Regions from separate parts of the Homo sapiens genome. Here region 2 is linked to region 1. Evidence: promoter capture Hi-C in 16 types of primary human blood cells and fetal thymus (Javierre and others, 2016). All regions are on one chromosome and are shown on one strand. Each heading gives the region's core, a stretch centred on a gene start or on the middle of the fragment in contact. The rest is flanking DNA. Distances are from core to core; before and after follow the strand shown.

Region 1 (6,378 bases), core at 1,074-3,573:
TATTTTTATTATTTATTTATTTATTTATTTATTTGAGATGGAGTTTAGCTCTCGTTGCCCAGGCTGGAGTGCAATGGCAAGATCTCAGCTCATGGCAACCTCTGCCTCCCAGGTTCAAACGATTCTCCTCCCTCAGCCTCCCGAGTAGCTTGGATTACAGGCATGTGCCACTACGCCCAGCTAATTTTTCTATTTTTAGTAGAGATGGAGTTTCACCATGTTGGTCAGGCTGGTCTCGAACTCCTGACCTCAGCTGATCCACCCGCCTCAGCCTCCCAAAGTGCTGGGATTACAGGTGTGAGCCACCGTGCCTGGCCTATGTATTTATCTTTATTATTATTTTTAGATAGAGTCTCACTCTGTTGCACAGGTTGGAGTGCAGTGGTGCAATCTCCACTCACTGCAACCTTCCCCTCCCAGGTTTAAATGATTCTCCTTTCTCAGCCTCCTGAGTAGCTGAGATTACAGGTGCCCACCCACGCCCAGCTCATTTTTCTAGCTTTTCTAGTAGAGACGGGGTTTTACCACACTGGCCAGGCTGGTCACTAACTCCTGACCTCAGGTGATTTGCCCGCCTCAGCCTCCCAAAGTGCTGGGATTACAGGCATGAGCCACCGTGCCTGGCTTTATTTTTTATTTTTATTTTTTCTGAGATGGAGTCTCACTCTGTCACCCAGGCTGGAGTGCAGTGGCAGGATCTCAGCTCACTGCAACCTCTGCCTCCCGGGTTCAAGCTATTCTCCTGCCTCAGCCTCCAGAGTAAGCTGGGACTACAGGCAAGTGCCACCACACCTGGCTAATTTTTTTTGTATTTTTCGTAGGGATGGGGTTTCACTATGTTCGCCAGGCTGGTCTTGAACTTGGCTCGCCTCGGCCTCCCAAAGTGCTGGGATTACAGGCGTGAGCCACTGAGCCCGGCCATTTATTTATTTTTTAATTAAAAATAGAAACGGGGCTGGGAGCAGTGGCTCACGCCTGTAATCCCAGCACTTTGGGAGGCCGAGGCAGGCGGATCATGAGGTCAGATCGATACCATCCTGGCCAACATGGTGAAACCCTGTCTTTACTAAAAATACAAAAAAAATTAGCTGGGCGTTGTGGCCCACGCCTGTAGTCCCAGCTACTCAGGAGGCTGAGGCGTGAGAATTGCTTGAACCCAAGAGGCGGAGGTTGCAGTGAGCCGAAATTGCGCCACTTGCACTCCAGCCTGGCGACAGAGCAAGACTCCTCCTCAAAAAAAGAAAAAAAAATAGAAATGGAGGTTTCGCTTTGTTGTCCAGGCTGGTCTCGAACTCCTAGCCTCAGGCAATTCTTCCACCTCAGCCTCCTAAAAAGCTGGGATTACAGGTGTGAGCCACTGCTCTCCGCTCAAAGGACAAAATATTTAAAGAAGCTGAGAAATACTGAGCTCTGGGATAAATCTTGGCCTCAACATAGCATAGAAAGTAAGGCCTTCTGCTGTTGAGCTTTTTTCCCGTGAACTCACCTCCACAATCTCTTGCATTATTGGTTTTTTTGCTGTTCTTGTAATATGGCAGGCCTTTTCATAATTTTGCAGCCTGTTCTGCTTCCCCTATTTGGAATGTCGCTTCCCTTCTGGGAAATTTGCAAACTCCTAGTTAACCTTCAAAGCCCAGTTCAAAAGTCCCTTCCCTGGTGAAACCTTCCCTGATTTGCCCTTTTCTCTTCCACCCACATCCAAGTTACTTCCTTCTTCCACCCACTGGGCTCTGAAGGTATTAGCCATCACCATTGCAGGAATCATTTGGAATGTTTATCTATTTAAGGCTTCTAGACTAGATTCTAGATTAAATTCCACTAGACTAAGTTCCTAGAGGGCTGGGCCTGTCAGATCCATTCCGAGAACCTACCAATGGACCTGGCATGGAGTAGAAGTGGGGGAGTGGCTAGTGAATGAAGAAAGAAAATAGATTGAGAGATGAATGGATAAATCTCACCTGCGGCCTAGGCCACTGACAGCTGTCCCCAAAGTCCAGAGCTCAGTTAGGCTGGCTTCACGTGGGCGGGACCTCCCGCAGCAGCCGCCGCTACCAGCCCAGCAAATCTCATCCCCACGTGGCAGTTCTAGGGGATAGGAGACGGGGTCGGGAAAGAACAGGCTGATTCGGTCAAAGTGGCCGGGACGGAGCCAGGGAAGGCCCTTCCCCGTTCTTTGCACCCGGCTTGGGCCCACTCCCCTAAAAGATTCAGACTCCCTGCCCGAGACCGTGATAGACCCGGTATCCGGGGACCCTCGCCCCTACCCTCCAGCCCCGGACTGCAATACCTGCGGCGACTTAGGCCAGTCGCGAGCCGTGACTCCACCCCGGAGGGGCGGGGCTTAGGTCCGGGCCCTCCTCCCAGGACCCGGAAGAGCGTCCGGGCCAACCGCTCCCTCTTCCCTGCTCCGCCCCGAGGGCCCGGCGCTGACTTCCTGGGCTGGCGGTGGAGGGGTCCCCCAGACCGGGAGTGGACGCCAGGCTCTGCATTTCTCGGGAACCAAGTGGGGTGGGCCTTCCCTGGGTCCCTCCCTCCCGGACGGGATAAATAAGCCGGGGCTACTTGGAAACGATTTGCGCAATGCCGGGTTCGGGCGTCCGTTTGGGGAACTCAGATGCCTGCGGCAGCTGATCTACTCTGTAAGGGGCTAACAGGGCTGGGCGCCACCACACTCCAGCTTGGGCAACAGCGCAAAAACTCCCTCTCAAAAAAATAAATAAATAAAAGGGGGGGAGGGTATAACAGTTACATTTCCAGTTACAACGATTGTTTTTTTTTTTTTTTTTTGAGACGGAGTCTCGCTCTGTCGCCCAGGCGGGACTGCGGACTGCAGTGGCGCAATCTCGGCTCACTGCAAGCTCCGCTTCCCGGGTTCACGCCATTCTCCTGCCTCAGCCTCCCGAGTAGCTGGGACTACAGGCGCCCGCCACCGCGCCCGGCTAATTTTTTTTGTATTTTTAGTAGAGACGGGGTTTCACCTTGTTAGCCAGGATGGTCTCGATCTCCTGACCTCATGATCCACCCGCCTCGGCCTCCCAAAGTGCTGGGATTACAGGCGTGAGCCACCGCGCCCGGCCACAACGATTGTTAACAGTTTCTAAAGGGGAGAGTTGAGCATGCAATCCTCCTGCGCAGTCTTCGGGCCAGCTCAAGATTTGGTGCTTTAAACAGCTGATTCATTCCATAATTGCCATTTGTAATTATGGCAGGTGCTATGCTGAGCCAGACACCACCACGCTTTGCCTCCAGGAGCAAGTCTTAACTAGAGAGAGATCAAAGAAAAAGACAACTAGGGACGACTGCCAAGAGTGCAATAAATATAAAGTTCAGCCAGGAGAGTATCTGTTCTGAAGTTACTTTCCTCCAGGCCTCAGGGTTGTCTGTTTGTAACCATGGAGCTAATAAGATTTCTATCATAGGCTGGGCGCGGTGGCTCACGCCTATAAGTCCAGCACTTTGGGAGGCCGAGGCGGGCGGATCACGAGGTCAGGAGTTCGAGACCAGCCTGGCCTACATGGTGAACGCCCCCGCCCCCCCCCCCAACTAAAAACACAAAAATTAGCTAGGCGTGGTGGTGGGCGCCTGTAATCCCTGCTACTCAGGAGGCTGAGGCAGGAAAATTGCTTGAATCTGGGAGGCGGAGGTTGCAGTGAGCCGAGATAGTGCCACTGCACTCCAGCCTGGGTGACAGAGCCAGACTCCGTCTCAAGAAAAAAAAAAAAAAAAGAGAGATGTATGTAGTAGTTGTGGTGGGGAATACATGACATAATGTAAATAAAAGTGCTCAGCACCCAGCAGCTGGCACAGAGTTCTCTGTCAAGGGTAAAGCTATTCCTGACTATAAATGAACAATGTCTCTAGACATATTCAGAATCTACATTATCTTTGTTTTAGTTCATAACCATAGGTTCTCTGTGTCTTTCCTGAAAATAGAGAGGTGGCTTGCTCTCTTATGTCTGTTTCAAAGAACTCCAGTCTCTGAAACTGTCGCTGTGTCCTAGAAAATAGAGAAAACAGCTCAGGTTAGAAACAGGAGCTCCTGGAGTATAGAGCTATGGTAGCTTAGTGGGAAGAGATCAAACATACTTGGGTTAAAATCCAAGCTCCAGGCTGGGTGTGGTGGCTCATGCCTGTAATCCCAGCACTATGGGAGGCCAAGGAGGGCAGATCACGAGGTCAGGAGTTCAAGACCAGCCTGGCCAACATAGTGAAACCCCATCTCTACTAAAAATACAAAAATTAGCCAGGCACGGTGATGCGCACCTATAGTCCCAGCTACTCGGGAGGCTGAGGCAGGAGAATTGCTTGAATCGGGAGGCAGAGGTTGTGGTGAGCCAAGATCATGCCACTGCACTCCAGCTTGGGCAACAGAGCAAGACTCTGTCTAAAAAAAAATCAGCCAGGCGTTTGCCTGTAATCCCAGCTACTCAGGAGGCTGAGGCAGAAGAATCACTTGAACCCAGGAGGTGGAGGTTGCAGTGAGCCGAGATCGTGCCACTGCACTCCAGCCGGGGCAACAGAGCAAGACTCTGTCAAAAAAAAAAAATCCAGGGTCCAGCACTAACCATCTAACTCTGACATTTGGCAAGTTACCCACTCTGAACCCTAGTTCCTCATCTATAGAATGATGATAGTATTACCTGCTGTGCAGACAGAACTGTTCAGAGGATGTGCTAATACAGGTGAAAGGCCAGGTTGGTGAAAGGAATATTTTAGCTACTTGAAACCATAACCAAAATTTATTGACAAAATGGAATTCAAGGTCTGCGGCTCTTTCAAACATATGGAGTCTTTGTGAGTTCCCACTTTAGTGGAAAAATCCCCATTGACTGTCTGCCAAAGAGAAGTTTAGGGATATTCAGTCATTCTGCTCTCCTTCAGGAAAGAAAACCAAGTCCAGGTTAGCTCTGCCATATGTCCATGTGCATCTCCACGTACATTTCTGCTCACAGCTGCAGAATGCTCTGATGTCCCCGGTGTTTTCTGGCTAGCTCTGTTTCAAGGTGCCATGCTGGAGTGGCACATCAACAAGAAAAATTGGAAGAGGTTTGTGGGCAAAATAGCAGCCAGTTTTCACTGCGGGACCTATTTATTTATTTATTTACAGACGGAGTCTCGATTTGTCGCCCAGGATGGAATGCAGTGGCGCCCTCAGTTCACTGCAACCTCCGCCTCCTGGGTTCAAGCAATTGTCCTGCCTCAGCCTCCCAAGTAGCTGGGATTATAGGCGTGGCCACCACGTATGGTTAATTTTTGTACTTTTAGTAGAGACGGCATTTCACCATGTTGGCCAGGCTGGTCTTGAACTCCTAGCCTCAGATGATCCACCTGCCTTGGCCACCCAAAGTGCTGGCATTACAGGCATGAGCCACCGTGCCTGCTGAACCTATGCTTTTAGACTAGAAATCACATTTGAGAATGTGGAATGCCTGAGATCTATTTTCTTTTTTTTTTTTTGAGACAGTCTTGCTCTGTCGCCCAAGCTGGGGGAGTGCAGTGGCATGATCTCGGCTCACTGCAACATCCGCCTCCCGGGTTCAAGCAATTCTCTGCATCATCCTCCCAAGTAGCTGGGATTACAGGTACCCGCCACCACACCCAGCTAATTTTTTTTTTGCATTTTTAGTAGAGACGGGGTTTCACCATCTTGGCCAGGCTGGTCTTGAACTCCTGACCTCGTGATCCACCCACCTCGGTCTCCCAAAGTTCTGGGATTACAGGCGTGAGCCACTGCGCCAGGCTGCCTGAGATGTATTTTCTATTTCTATTTTTATTTATTTACTTATTTTGAGATGGAATCTTGTTCTGTCGCCCAGCCTGGAGTGCAGTGTCATGATCTCAGGTTACTGCAACCTCCGCCTCCCAGGTTCAAGCAATTCTCTTGCCTCAGCCTCCTGAGTACCTGGGACTACAGGTGCGCACCACCATGCCTGGCTAATTTTTGTATTTTTCGTAGAGACAGGGTTTCACCATGTTGGCCAGGTTGGTCTTGAATTCCTGACCTCAAATGATTCACCCACCTCTGCCTCCAAAAGTGCTGGGATTACAGGTGTGAGCCACTGTGCCTGGCAAGAGATGTATTTTTAAAAATGGAAATCAAGGCCCAGAGAAGTTAAAATAACTACCCCACATAAAATGGCAGAACCAGGAACCCAGGAACCCAGATCTCTTATTTCTTGCAAGGAAGACTAAGAATGCATTCCAGTCATCAAGCTCTGTTACCCCATCTCCATACCAAACCACTGGAAGTGTCTAACACCTCTCCTAAAAGCTTGCCCAACACTCTGACGCACGCTTTCTTCTTTTCTCTCTGCTGTGGATGTGAAGAATGATGTTCACTCAATGAGGTGGGTCTGCAGGAGGGAGCTTCCTCCTGTC
Region 2 (6,378 bases), core at 1,463-3,962, 170 kb before region 1:
GAATAAACCCCTTTGCATGTCTGAGCCTCGGCTTCCTCATCTGTGAAGTGCAGCCCTTACAATGCCCACTACCAGGTGAAGGCTCTGTGACGTCATGTGGGAAGCGTCAGCCCCGGGCCTGCACACGGAGTCTCGCTGTCACCCAGGCTGGAGTGTGGTGGTGCAATCTCGGCTCACTGCAACCTCCACCCCCCAGGTTCAAGCGATTCTCCTGCCTCAGCCCCCCAGGTAGCTGAGATTATAGGTGCACGCCACCACACCAAGGCTAACTTTTGTGTTTCTTTTTTTTTTTTTTTTTTTTTCTGGAGATGGAGTTTCACTGTTGTTGCCGAGGCTGGAGTGCAATGGCGAGATCTCGGCTCACTGCAACCTTCACCCCCCGGGTTCAAGTGATTCTCTTGCCTCAGCCTCCCAAGTAGCTGGGTTTACAGGCACGCGCCACCATGCCCAGCTAATTTTGTATTTTTAGTAGAGATGGGGTTTCACCATGTTGGCCAGGCTGGTCTTGAACTCCTGACCTCAGGTGATCTGCCCGCCTCAGCCTCCCGAAGTGCTGAAATTACAGGTGTGAACCACCACCCGGCCTAACTTCTGTGTTTCTAGTAGAGACAGGGTTTCACCATGTTGGCCAGGCTGATCTCAACTCCTGACCTCAAGTGATCCGCCCGCCTTGGCCTCCCGAAGTGCTGGGATTACAGGCGTGAGCCACCATGCCAGGCCATGAAGAAGGTTTTGGAACTCGAGGCATGGCCATGACTAACAACACAGGCGCCTCCCCAGAGCACCTTCCCAGAGAATGGGACAGGTGGCTCCCACAGTTCTCAGGACTGTGTCCAGTGAGATCTTACAGTGTTGGCACCTGTGGGCTGGGCTCAGGTCACTGGCTGTGGCTCAGGGCTGTTGCTGCATCTGTAAGATTGGAATAATAACCTTGTCGTTGGGCTGCTAGAGAAAAGCTTTATATCGGGAATAATGATTATTTGCCACAACGCAGGGTGGGCAGAGAGGAACCTGGTGTGTCTGCCTCGGGGGGCCTGGGTGAATTCTGGGCTCCAGCCACAGCTGTCTCATGAAGGGCTTGGTGCAAGCCCATTCGGGGTCTGAGAGCCGATTCCCTGTTCAGGAGCCCCCTGCCCTCCTGGGCATCCTCGAAGGCGCCCCAAGGCTCCTCCAGAGAGGGCTGAGGGCTGCCTTTGCTCCTCCTTTTCAGCCAATGGTTTGTACCTGTCCTTGGCCACAAGATGTCACCCAAGGAACAGCAAAGCCGGGGCCTGGGAGGAAACTGGCCGACGGCAGACTCGCGGGGGAAGGGGTCGGGGATGGTGCGGAGAAGCCGCAGAGGCAGCGTGCTGCAGTGGCTGCAAATCTCGGGATTTCTAGCAGAACGGGGCGCTGTTGCCCTCAGAGGACGCCGATTTGTAGATGCCACCTAAAGATAATAAATTCGAAAATAATAAGTAAATAGGGACAAAAATCCCACCTTCCCAGAGTAAAATTAAACCCTGCTAGCCAGATAAAGGGCTGCAAACAGACAAGACACTTTGGTGTGATCAGGGCTGCAACCCAGGCAGGCACTGAGCTGGGCTCCAGGCATCCTCATCCCGGCCCTGTGCTTGGTGGGGTGGGAGCAGACACAGGAGAGGTGTGACCTGGTGTGGCACAGCCTCTGCCCCACCTAATTCTACCCACTGGAGATCAAGGGCTTTGGGGCACTCTGTCTTCCCAGAGGACGTGAAGAACTACCTGGCCCTGGACCACGACAGGGATAGTTCCTGTCCCAGCAGGGCCTGAATTTGGAAGGAAAAGATGGTGGAATCCCCGCCCTGAAGGGCTACTTTCTGCCTCTCATCCATCCCCATCTGCAAACATTAGGGACACCTGCCATTTGGAGGCATGCCCTCCCCTAGGAGCACAGGCTCCAGGGAGACACTGCTCTGGAGAGGGAGGGATGGGGGTGAGGCCTCACTGAGGAGGGAGGCAGGAGGGGGCACCTGGGGTTTTCCTCCAGAAGGGCCATCTGAGGCAGGAGGAAGGACTGTGGGGGAGGCAGTCAGATCTGGGCATCAGCAAAGGCTTAGAGGCCGGCAAAGGGCAGCACTTTGGGAAAGGTGATAGTTCTCAGTGGCTGGAGTGGGGCTGGCTGGAGGGGAAGGAGAAGGACCAGAGGCATGTGGCTGAAAAGGCAGGACAGAACCCAGGTAGAAAAGAGAAGATTTTAGGCAGAAGAGGAATCTGCTCAGACTTGATGAATTTTTTTGTTTGTTTGTTTTTGAGGTGGAGTTTTGCTCTTGTTGCCCGGGCTGGAGTGCAATGGCGTGATCTTGGCTCACTGCAACCTACGCCTCCCGGGTTCAAGTGATTCTCCTGCCTCAGCCTCTCGAGTAGCTGGGATTATAGGCATTCACCAACACGCCCAGCTAATTTTGTATTTTTAGTAGATACGGGGTTTCTCCATGTTGGTCAGGCTGGTCTCGAATTCCTGACCTCAGGTGATCCACCCACCTCGGCTTCCCAAATTTCTGGGATTACAGGTGTGAGCTACCGTGCCTGGCCAGACTTGATGAATTCTAAGGGCACCTAGGAGAAGGGGTGAGAGGGAGGCAGGGAGACTAGGAGTCAGTCGTGATTGTGGAGGTGGAAAAACTGGCTGTGGCAGCGGGGGACAGGTTTAAGAGACATTTCCCAGCCAGGCGCGGTGGCTCACACCTGTAATCCCAGCACTTTGGGAAGCCAAGGCGGGTAGATCACTTGAGGTCAGGAGTTCGAGACCAGCCTGGCCAACATGGTGAAACACTGTCTCTACCAAAAGCACAAAAATTAGCCAGGCATGGTGGCGTGTACCTGTAGTCCCAGCTTCTCAGGAGGCTGAGGCAGGAGAATCGCTTGAACCCAAGAGGCAGAGGTTGCAGTGAGCCGAGATTGTGCCACTGCACTCCAGCCTGGGCGACAAAGTGAGACCCTGCCACACACACACGCACAACACAAAAGAGACATTTGCCAAGGGCCCCTCAGGAGGTTTGGGCAATCCAGAGCCTGGGCCAGGGAAGAAGGCTGGGCAGCGGCAGGCATGAGTGACAAAGAGGCGTGTAGGGTGGGGCACATAGGGATGAAAGTATCTGGACCCAGAAAGGCATCATGTGTCAGGAATCACTCCACTGTGGTTACTGTTTATGACCACAGTGGAAAGGGACTTGAGCTCACAACCCAGCCTGTTAGTTGATAAACTGCCTCCTGGGTACAGTGTCCAATATTTGGGTGATGGGTAGGCTAGGAACCCAACCCCATCATTATGCATGTAATACCCATGTAACAAACAAGCACAGGTACCTCCTGAATCTAGAATAAAATAAAAAAATGGGTTCTCTTGGCTGTCCATGGTGGCATCACCCCTGCCATCAAGGGGCTGCACCCCACTGAGTACTTGCCGCCCTTGGCCAAATGCCTCAGTCAGACGCAGATACCAACCAGCAGGGACTGGCAAGAACTGTGACAGCTGCAGGGCTGGGTGCTGCTGCTCTTGCCTTTGCAGGTCGCTGTGCGTCGCAGTCCTGGAAACCTCTAGAACAAGGATCACAGAAGCAGTAGAGAACCTTTGAACTCCTAGCCTGTCATCCTATTACAAAGGAGGATTTGAACAGAAAATGAGTAGGAGAAAAGCTAGTGTTATTTTAGGTGTAAGTTCACCTGCTGGCAAGGCTAAGATTAGAGCAGCTCACAGGAGAATCGTGATTTTGAATCACCCAGATAAAGGTGGATCTCCCTACTTAGCAACCAAAATAAATGAAACAGAAGATTTGCGAGAAGCGACCACCGATCACCGATGGATGCTCAAGAACCCCGCTGAGGAAAAAAGGCAGGGCGCCTTTAAAAAATCCTGCAAATCAATCTACAACATGATCTTCTTAATTTTCATACATGCATAGACCACAATCTTTTCTTCTCCCATTAAGCTATTATAACAATAAAAGATTAATAATGTCCAGGCGCGGTAGCTCACACCGGTAATCTCAGCACTTTTGGAGGCTGAGGCAGGAGGATAGCTTAAGCCCAGGAGTTGAAGACCAGCTTAGGCAATATAGCGAGACCCCACCTATAAAAAATACAAAAAAATTAGCCAGGCGTGGCGGCATGCACCTGTAGTCCCAGCTACTCAGGAGGCTGGGGTGGGAGGATCACTTGAGCCTGGGAGGTCGAGGCTGCAGTGAGCCATGATCTTACCACTGCACTCCAGCCTGGGTGATAGAGCAAGACCCTGTCTAAAAAAAAAAAAAAAAAAGATAAATAGTAACAACCACCAAAAAGGGCTCTGAGTGTCTGCCCTGTGCACAGGTGGTCCTTGTGCTCCTGGCAAGTCCAGCGCAGGCCCTCCCTGGCAACTGCCCTGCTGACCGGTGTCAGAGGAGGCACCTTTCCAGGATTCCCTGGCCTGTCTCCTCACCCACAATATACCAGGTTAAAAAGAAGCTTGGGCCAGGCACAATGGCTCATGCCTGTAATCCTAGCACTTTGGGAGGCCAAGGCGGGCAGATCACCTGAGGTCAGGAGTTCGAGACCAGCCTGGCCAACATGGTGAAACCCCCATCTCTACTAAAAATACAAAAATTAGACGGGCATGGTGGCATGTGCCTGTAATCCCAGCTACTTGGGAGTCTGAGGCAGGAGAATTGCTTGAACCTGGGAAGTGGAGGTTGCAGTGAGCCAAAATCGCGCCATAGCACTCCAGCCTGGGCAACAGAGCGAAACTCCGTCTCAAAAAACAAAAAGCAGCTTGGGGCCTGAACTTGTGTTCAGTGGCAAGACTATCAAGTCCCCTCTTGAGTCAGCTCAGTGGGCAGCCTTCCTGATCAAGGGTTCCGGACACCCCCGTGCTCCTGGCAGCCTCCACTGTGTCCCTGCACTTTAACCACCCCCTCCATTAAAGGCCAGTACAGGAGAAATAGTTCAAGATTTTATGTAGATGGTAAAACTGCAGGGGATCCGTGAGGTAATAAAGCCCAAATCAGGAAACGCCTTCAAAGGAGTTGCCACTTGCCTTAGGTCTGGTTAGAGACAGAGCTCAGATTAGATCCATCTTCCAGTTCCTGAGCCTAGCAACATAACCAAACACCGCTGGGAACCTGTGGCTTTTCAGTAATGGCGGGAGTGGCCCAGGGAGGGAAAGGACTAGTTCAGGCTCATTGGTATGGCCCACTTAGCTGTGGAGGGGCTTGTGGCAGGGGCATCCCTGAGGACGCTGCGACAATCGGATGGCCCTGAGCACTTCCTGTCATCTGTCCCCTTCCATTGCACTCTTCTCCTCACAGCATGCTGCCCCAAAGCAGCAGCAGCAGATGCAGCCTCTGCTGTCACCGCCACAGCCACACGAAAAGGAAAATAGGGTCGCCAGTGATCAAAATGTAAAGGGACCTAGGGGAGGGAACCCAGGCATGGAAGTCCACACATCAAATGTGGGAGGAGAAGTAGAAGAGGAGAAATTCTTTTACTTTCAGCAGAGGCAGCACTGGGGAAACAAAAGTGAAGTCAGAGGTCAAGGGCTGTGGGAACCAATGCAGTTATTTTACATGGGACACCAGTTATGAATGGTCACAAAACAATCAAAATGAAACAACTGGCTGGGCGCGGTGGCTCACGCCTGTAATCCCAGCACTTTGGGAGGCCAAGGCAGGAGATGACTTGAGGTCAGGAGTTTGAGACCAGCTTGGCCAACATGGTGAAACCCCAGTCTCTACTAAAAATACAAAAATTAGCCAGGCATGGTAGCACATGCCTGTAATCCCAGCTACTCGGGAGGCTGAGGTGGGAGAATCACTTGAACCCAGGAGGCAGAGCGTGCAGTGAGCCGAAATCGCACCACTGCACTCCAGCCTGGGTGACAGAGTGAGACTCCATCTCAAACAAAAAACCCAAAAACAAAACAAACAAACAAACAAAAAAACATTTTAAAAGCTTAAACACAGAAAGATTAGACTCTAAGAATTTTTCATACATAAATTTGGGTATGTCATTGAACACCATGATTCTCTGGAAATGTTTAGCAATTTGAGGCTAAGGAAACAGCGTTACATAACAGGCAGTTATGAGTAAAGAAAATGCTTCATTCTAAGCATATAAAAAGAGCTATCCTTAAAGGAATCATTGGATTGGCTGTAGGCTAACAATTCTCATTCTTTTAAAGGGGCTTCCCCATTCATGCTTATTACCCTTGTGAGCTATGAAGCCAAGTGTTTAGGAGTTAACCACTTTCACAGTGGATCATACATTTTCATGAGTTTCAGTGAGATGGGGAGCTTGCTAGAAATGCAGATTCCTGGCATCTTCCCCAGAAATTGATTCAATGGGTATGGGGTGGGATCATGAGTCTGTGGTTTTATGAACCTC

What was found. Contacts are between HindIII fragments. The CHiCAGO score rates a contact against its expected background, and 5 or more counts as called.
Region 2: a contact is called between a fragment that was not itself captured here and the fragment with the promoter of RABEPK in region 1, in 1 of 17 cell types (M1 macrophages). The highest score is 5.1, in M1 macrophages.

The regions. Positions count from the first base shown.
Region 1 is chr9:125,196,487-125,202,864 of GRCh38, reverse strand. RABEPK (Rab9 effector protein with kelch motifs) reads right to left here and starts at 2,323. Exons shown (of 8, transcript NM_005833.4): 1 at 1,959-2,323. It overlaps LOC105376271 (a long non-coding RNA gene), which reads left to right and starts at 2,469. Exons shown (of 2, transcript NR_135145.1): 1 at 2,469-2,639; 2 at 3,210-3,332. RefSeq lists a silencer at 2,396-2,445. The HindIII fragment of the contact is 9,581 bases long and covers 1-6,273 here.
Region 2 is chr9:125,369,765-125,376,142 of GRCh38, reverse strand. No RefSeq gene overlaps it. Among named protein-coding and RNA genes, the nearest start is that of GAPVD1, 110 kb to the right of the region's middle. RefSeq lists an enhancer at 4,565-5,065. The HindIII fragment of the contact is 3,508 bases long and covers 959-4,466 here.